2 separate regions of the Homo sapiens genome follow, and region 1 is linked to region 2. Evidence: promoter capture Hi-C in human tissues and cell types (Jung and others, 2019). All regions are on one chromosome and are shown on one strand. Each heading gives the region's core, a stretch centred on a gene start or on the middle of the fragment in contact. The rest is flanking DNA. Distances are from core to core; before and after follow the strand shown. Region 1 overlaps CGNL1 (cingulin like 1). Region 2 holds the start of MNS1 (meiosis specific nuclear structural 1).

Region 1 (3,612 bases), core at 225-2,724, 1.1 Mb before region 2:
CTTTCCTACTGCTGAGAGTGTGCCATCTCTCAGTCACAGCTTCCCACTGCTAGAGGTCTGGCCAACCAGATAATTGGCTTGTTAAAATCAGTGTCACTTCAAAAACATCAACAATGAGTTAAAAAAGAATAAATAGTCTTGAGTGAGAATCGGTCTAATGGTGGTGTTAAGACAGCCCTTTCAGGTGGATGCCTGTGTGAAGCCATGGAAGGCTGGGTATGTCTGGTATCTGGGTGTGTGGGGATTCCTGTGCCTAGACCTGTGTTCCCGCCTGACCTCACCGTCCCTGTTCCCTGGCCTCCCTGTCATGCCACTCCCAGGGGAACAAAGAAATGGCTTGCAGAGAGGATGTATTCACTATTGCCTTGACCTTTCCTACTACATCATGACAATAAATCCCTTCCCCACTTTTGAAATCACTTACACAGGAAAGAAGGAGCAGCAGCTGCCAAAGCTGGGCCTGGGCCCAGCGAGCCTCACCTCGTACTTCTTCAGCGTTTCCTTCGCCTTGGCTTCATCGCCTTTCAGGTCCTCGATCTGCCTTTGAAGCTGAGCAACTCTCCGCTCCAGCTCTTCGCTTCTTCCCTGCAGCTTCTCATTCTCCTCCTGCAGAAGCTTCACGCGCATTTCAGTCCCCGCCTGGTCTTGCTCTGAAGTGTTGCTCCTGCTCGCCAAGACCTCGACATTCTGTTAAAAACACAAAGCAAATGAACAAGGAGACTGATGTCAAGGAGCTGTCCCCAGGCTGGAAGAATGGCTGGCATTTATGAAAAACCCATTGTGCCCACTTAGCCAGGCCCTGTGCTGAGCCAGGGGTCGGCAAACGACAGCCTGCAGGCCAAACCCAGCCCCTCACCTGTTTTGAAAAGCGCAGTGTTATTGGAACATAGCCACGCCCTTCCATTTGCAGACTGTCTGTGGCTGCTTTCAAGCTACAACAGCAGGGCCGAGTGGTTGCAACAGAAACCCCAAAGCCTATGGTGTCACAAAGCCTAAAATGTTGACTCTCTGGCTCTTCATAGAAAAAGTTTGCCAACCCTTGCCTGTGTTAAGATCTTTACACGGGATTTCGACCTTTTAACAATTCCAGAAGGCGGGTGCTATTCTTATCGCCATCTTAAATATGAGGAAACTGACACTTGGATAGTTTAAGTAACTTGTCCAAGATCACTTAGGAGGAACTGCATTCGGGCAGGCTGAATCCAGAACCTGTCCTCATAACCCTCGCTTTCTGACATGTCCACTTCCCTGCCCCATTTGCATGGGCAGGGTCTCTTTTTCTTTCTTTTTTTTTTTTTTTTTTTTTTTGAGACAGAGTCTCGCTCTGTCCCCCAGGCTGGAGTGCAGTGGCGCGATGTCGGCTCACTGCAAGCTCCGCCTCCTGGGTTCACACCATTCTCCTGCTTCAGCCTCCCGAGTAGCTGGGACTACAGGCGCCCGCCACCACGCCTGGCTAATTTTTTTATATTTTTAGTAGAGACGGGGTTTCACCATGTTAGCCAGGATGGTCTCGATCTCCTGAGCTCATCATCTGTCTGCCTCGGCCTCCCAAAGTGCTGGGATTACAGGTGTGAGCCACCACACCCGGCCCAGGGTCTTTAATAGAAGCTCTTGAGGAAGGGCAGCTTCGGAGTACAGATTTTTTTCATGTCCAATATAAAACAGAAATTTAAATTAGCTTAAATTAGGATACAGTTCACAGTGTAAGCTCTAGGTATGCTGCACACAATCCACAACAGAAAGGAATGACAATCTCAGGGTGGTTATTGTTGATTCCAGAGGTCACAGGGGCTTTGTATTCTTCGGTTTAGCAATTTGAAGTGATGGGAAATGGTCCTGCCCCACATTCCACCTCTCCAGGCAGATCTCTTACCTGTCCTCCATTTCTCCACTACTACAAAGATGCCAATATCAGCAAATCTCATGCCTACAACACAATGCTACAGACGCCTGCGATAAAAGAAAGGCCCAGGGAGGACAAGGTTAGGCTTTTAAAGGCTGTATCACCGACCATGTGGGAGAAGTATCTGCTAGAACTGCTCACTTATATAGCCTGTTGGAAAGATCTTTACTTCTCTTAACAGTACAGTAAGCTTATTATCCTGAACCTAACCAGTTAGAGAATTTCAGGAACCAGAGCATCCTTTCATGGCCCAAAGGTTTAATTCTATACAACAGAGAAAGCCCATCGGAGCCAAGCAACTGAGTTAGAATGAAGTTAGCTGGCGTTGCTAGGAGAAAACTAAGGTGTCAGACAGCTGAGACTTCTCAGGTCTATCAGGATATCGTCTCCTAATGAAACCAGCAAGAGGACATGTCACAAAAATATACAGAGGAGAAATAAAGTGTGGTTGAAAACTTGAGGAAGGATCTAAAGAATCTAGTAACTGGTCAGACCAGGGAAAGAAAAAGTCTAGATTGCCCACTTCTGCCCTAACTCTCCTATTAACATGTGAGACAAAGTTACAGTTATCAAGACAGGGCAGTACTGGCATGAGGGAAGGCATATAAATCAATGAAACAGAATTGGGAGTTCAGACATAAACCCCTACATGTATAGCCAACTGCTTTTCAACAAGGGTGCCAAGACAATTCAATGGGGGAAAGAATAGCCTTCAACAAATGGTGCCACTACAACTGGATATCCACATGAAAAAGAAATGAAGTTAGACATCTTCCTCATACCATACACAAAAGTTAACTCAAAATGGATCATAGGCCCAAATGTAGGATCTAAAACTATAAAACTCTTAAAACACAGAAACAAGTATTTGTGACCTTGGGTTAGGCAAAGGCTACTTAGCTACAACACCAAAAGTACAAGTGACAAAAGAACGAACAGATAAATTAAGCTTCTTCAAAATTTAAAACTTTTGTGCTGCAAATGATGCCACCAAGAAAGTCAAAAGACAACGACCAGAATGAAAGGAAATAAAAGTCATATATCTAATGAAGGACTCATATCCAGAATATATAAATGATTCTTTAACTCAGTAACAAAAAGACTTAAAAATGGGGCCAGGTGCGGTGGGTTACGTCATAGTCTCTGCACTTTAAGAGGCCCAGGCAGGCGGATCACTTGTGGTCAGAAGTTCAAGACCAGCCTGGCCAACATGATAAAACCCCATCTCTACTAAAAATACAAAAATCAGCCAGGTGTGGTGGTGCACACCTGTAATCCCAGCTAATTGGGATGCTGAGGCGAGAGAATTGTTTGAACTCGGGAGGCAGAGATTGCAGTGAGCCGAGATGGGACCACTGCACTCCAACTTGGGTGACAGAGCAAGACTCCATCTCAAAAAATAAATAAATAAACAATGGGGAAAGGATCCGAACAGTATATAAAATCCAACATGCATATGAAAACATATTCAACATCATTAGTCATTAGGGAAATGCAAATTAAAACCATAATGAGATACCACTCCACATCCACTAGGATAGCTATAATAAAAAAGAAAGATAATAACAAGTATTGGGGAGAGTTTAGAGGAATTAGACCACTTATACATTGCTGGTAGGAATGTAAAATGGTGCAGCTACTTTGGAAAACAGTTTGCCAGTTCCTCAAAATGTTACACAGAGTTACGGTAGGACCTAGCAATTTCACTC
Region 2 (3,854 bases), core at 402-2,901:
ATGCTAAAAATAGGGGAAATTGTATGGGTGCGGTGGGGAGGAGAGGTGAGACGGGGAATTCTCTGTATTCTGTCAATTTTTCTGTAAACCTAAAACTGCTTCGAAAAAGGAGCAAAGTCTATTAAAAATGTAGTAATTGTTAGGATAATTTTTTAAAGGTTAAAATCAGCTAATTGTTACAATTGATTAAATTTGTCTTGGATTTAGGTCAATATTCTGGCCAAAAATCTTTTTCTCAGATTACCTATGAAATTATATGAATCCTTCTACCATATCCAAGGGTATACTGGAAATGAGGAATTATAACTGAAGTTCCCTTTAGAGACGAAAGTCTTCATTTCGAGAAGTAAACAGTAAAAAACATACATGTTTGCTGAAATACTTTGCAATGTCACTATTTCACTATTAGGAATTAACAAATTAAACCCCACACTCTATTGAATGTGTTATACCCTGTTCAACCCTGAACCCATGCCTGTCTCCTGTCTCTTCTATACAGTGCCCAACCCTTTGCGGAGATGGATATGCCAAGAAGAGAAATTTATAGCAGGCTGCCTGCTTTGCTCCATTCCAGATCAATTTACACAGAACACCCAGAGGGCAGGTTTACGCCTTCTCTCCATTTCTCTCAAACAGTGATGGCAATGAGTGGAGTACTAGAGACAACATAGATATGCAACCACGGGATAAATGACCAAAGGACAGAGAGACGAGCGACCTCAGTTGTATGATGGAACCAAGAGAAGTCGCTGATTTTTAGTTGTTTTGATCTGGTTGTAAGGATGGGGTGACAACTTCCAAGCTTTTACACGTCAGCACTGAAACTGCAAGTCCCATTTGTTATTAATCTTTAAGCAGACATATTGCTACAGAAGACGGACTCCAAATTAGAATAACACAAAGTTATACCACTAATCACCTTATACAAATATTTTAGTGTTGACAAGATTTCTCTGAATGTATCATTTCTAAAATCAGTATATCTAATTTCTCTGATCCATTATCATTCTTAAACTTCCCATTTAAAATGGACTTTAGTGTCTAACCTGCCTATGGAATGAACCAGATCAACATCCTGCCATCATGTAACGTGCTCTCTCTTGGTACCTGGACCACATAGCAGAGTAAGATTCATGTGGCTCATAGATTTTAGTCCCAAAATTTACCAGCAGCTTCTGCGGGGGGGGGGGGGGGGCGGGGGGGTGAAGTGAAGGCTGCTGGAAGCTCGTGCTACCCTCAGTGCCTCACAACCCAGCAAAGGGGACAGCGACCTGGACTCCCATTGCTGAGGATTAAACCAGTCATCGTCCCTAGCAGAGACCTGGCTGACTAGGCACTTAGTGTGCGGGATGCTCCATGCGTGGAAATTTCCTTCGGCTCCATGCATTAGGCAGTAGTTTGCGTATTTCTCTGTGCGCAGTCTCCACAGTCCCGAACTTGGCTCCCAAACCCACTGAAACCACAGTTCGGCCGCTGGAGGGAAATCGAGCTTCCCTAGCCCACTGCAAAGTGCTTGGGTCAGGCCACAGTCTGAACTTCCCGCTTTTCTAGTTTAGACCTATAGAAGTAGCCCTCCTGCCCTGGTCCTAAGAAGCTCAATGCCGATTGTATCTTATCGCGTCCAATGGGAGGCCACGTTCTGCGTGGGTCACTTTTGGTCGAGCGGAGGGCGCGCAGCTCCACCGTTGCCAAGACGCCGCGTAAACACCCGAGCGCGCGCAGCCAGGTGCGCTCCTTGGGGCTGCTGGCTGCTGCGTTTGCGGCGGGAGGTGGTGGCCGCGGTCCCACGAGAGGGGGTATTTTTCGTCAGCCAAGATGGTGAGCCAGTTGGGGGACTTGAAACTACTTGTTTATTGTTGATTTAATTCTAGTTTGGCGCTCATCTGCTTCTAAAAAAGGATTTTAAGTGCTTAATCTGGTCATTAATTGGGGAACTTGTATTTGCTTTCGGAGGCTTCAGGTGCTATTAGAAGGGACGCTCGCGGTGGTTTCCAGCTTTTTTGGCACTTTTCGCATAGTGTATTAAATACATCTTTAAATCTGCCCAATAGAACCTCTGAAGAAATAAGTAGATATAAAAGTGTAGGAGAAAGCGAATTGATAAATAGCGGCGAATTGACCTATTACATTTATGTTAGGAAAATCTGACCAGCTTCTGAACAGCACTTTATGGCCCTGTGGTGGTAGTCGTGGTGGTGGTGGTGGTGGGTGGAATGAGGGGAGGAGAAATTCCCTGGTGGTAGTAAAGATCTGGGTCTGTAGGGTGCGATTAATCCTAGCACAGCTATTTATTAGCTGCAGAACCTTGGGTAAAGTTACTTTTCATGTTTCATCTATAAAATAGGTAATAATAACAGTACCTATTTAATCGATATGTGAACATATTTACCACGTTTACTTTTTATTCGGTATACTCCTTTGAATTTAGGAAGGAAGCCAGGCTCTTCGTATCCTTTCTTACTAAGGTTTATATCAATACATTTTTTAAAATTAGATTTTGGAATATCAAAATATGCATCTTTTTTTTTCTTCCATCGTAGGGTTCCAAAAGGAGAAATTTGAGCTGTAGTGAAAGGCATCAGAAATTAGTAGATGAAAACTACTGCAAAAAATTACATGTCCAAGCTCTAAAAAACGTCAACAGTCAAATCAGGAATCAAATGGTGCAGAATGAAAATGATAACCGTGTTCAGCGCAAGCAATTTCTCAGATTATTACAAAATGAACAATTTGAGTTGGATATGGAAGAGGCCATTCAAAAGGTAAGTTTTACTATTCATTGTTACTTTTTTTTTCATTTTGCACCTTGGAAACGATGAAAGTCAGCTGTTAATGCTGGAAATGAGTAGATAAACAACAGCAGCAGGTAAGTGATGCCTGATTGTGCCTCAGCTCGGTGTAATCGTAAAGACCTGGGTTTCTGGAGCCGGCCTGTCTTTGAATCCTACTACTGCTATACCTTAGCTACGGACCCTTGAGTAAGTTGCTTTTACTTTTTTTTTTTTTTGGATGGAGTCTTGCTCTGTCGCCCAGGTTGCAGTGCAGTGGCACGATCTTGGCTCACTGCAACCTCTGCCTCCGGGGTTCAAGCGATTCTTCTGCCTCAGCCTCCTGAATAGCTGGGACTATAGGCGCGCAACACCACGCCTGGCTAATTTTTTAATTTTTAGTAGAGACGGGGTTTCACCATATTGACCAGGCTGATCTCGAACTCCTAACCTCGTGATCCGCCCGCCTCGGCCTCCCAAAGTGCTGGGATTATAGGGGTGAGCCACCGCGCCCAGCCTGCTTTTATTTTTTATGCTTTTTCTATAAAATGGGGAATAAGAATAGTACCTCCTACTTAGGATTGTTTTAATAATGAGTTAATACATGCAAGACTCTTGGAATAGTGCCTGGTACAGAATAAGCACTCAGATTTTTTTTTAACATAAATATGAACTCTGTAATTACTACCAGTTTTGTTCATGTAAGTACAATTGTGTTGCCTTTCATAAATTTCTAAAAACAAAAATTTAGGGGTGCCTTTAAAAAATTTACTGAAATTAATGTATACATTATTAAGTGGTAGAAAATGAACCCTTAGGTATATCTCAACATTTTAAGGGATTAAGGTGGTAGAAAAGGGAAACTAATAAGAATTGAGACATGATAGAAGTGAATTCTCATAAATATATAAAAGGTATTCTGATATGTCAGTAGTTTTTGAGTAGCTGCTGTATGTTAAACATTTTGGAGGATTTTGTGGAGAATAACAAAAGCAAATTTAAAAAATGATATCCACCCTTCTGTGTTCCAAATTCAAAAGCTTAGATATGATTTTTTTTTTTAACTCTGAGAAAGCACATCTTAGG

The links. The method cuts DNA at HindIII sites, captures the fragments that hold promoters and counts their contacts. A contact is called where the count stands out against the background at its distance.
Region 1: a contact is called between a fragment that was not itself captured here and the fragment with the promoter of MNS1 in region 2, in 1 of the 25 tissues and cell types used here (lymphoblastoid cells).

What each region holds. Positions count from the first base shown.
Region 1 is chr15:57,513,855-57,517,466 of GRCh38, reverse strand. CGNL1 (cingulin like 1) reads right to left here. Exons shown (of 19, transcript NM_032866.5): 9 at 481-687. Among named protein-coding and RNA genes, the nearest start is that of GCOM1, 76 kb to the left of the region's middle. The HindIII fragment of the contact is 4,559 bases long and covers 1-3,612 here.
Region 2 is chr15:56,462,934-56,466,787 of GRCh38, reverse strand. MNS1 (meiosis specific nuclear structural 1) reads left to right here and starts at 1,651. Exons shown (of 10, transcript NM_018365.4): 1 at 1,651-1,818; 2 at 2,541-2,762. The coding sequence starts at 1,816. RefSeq lists a silencer at 1,472-1,721. The HindIII fragment of the contact is 6,259 bases long and covers 1-3,854 here.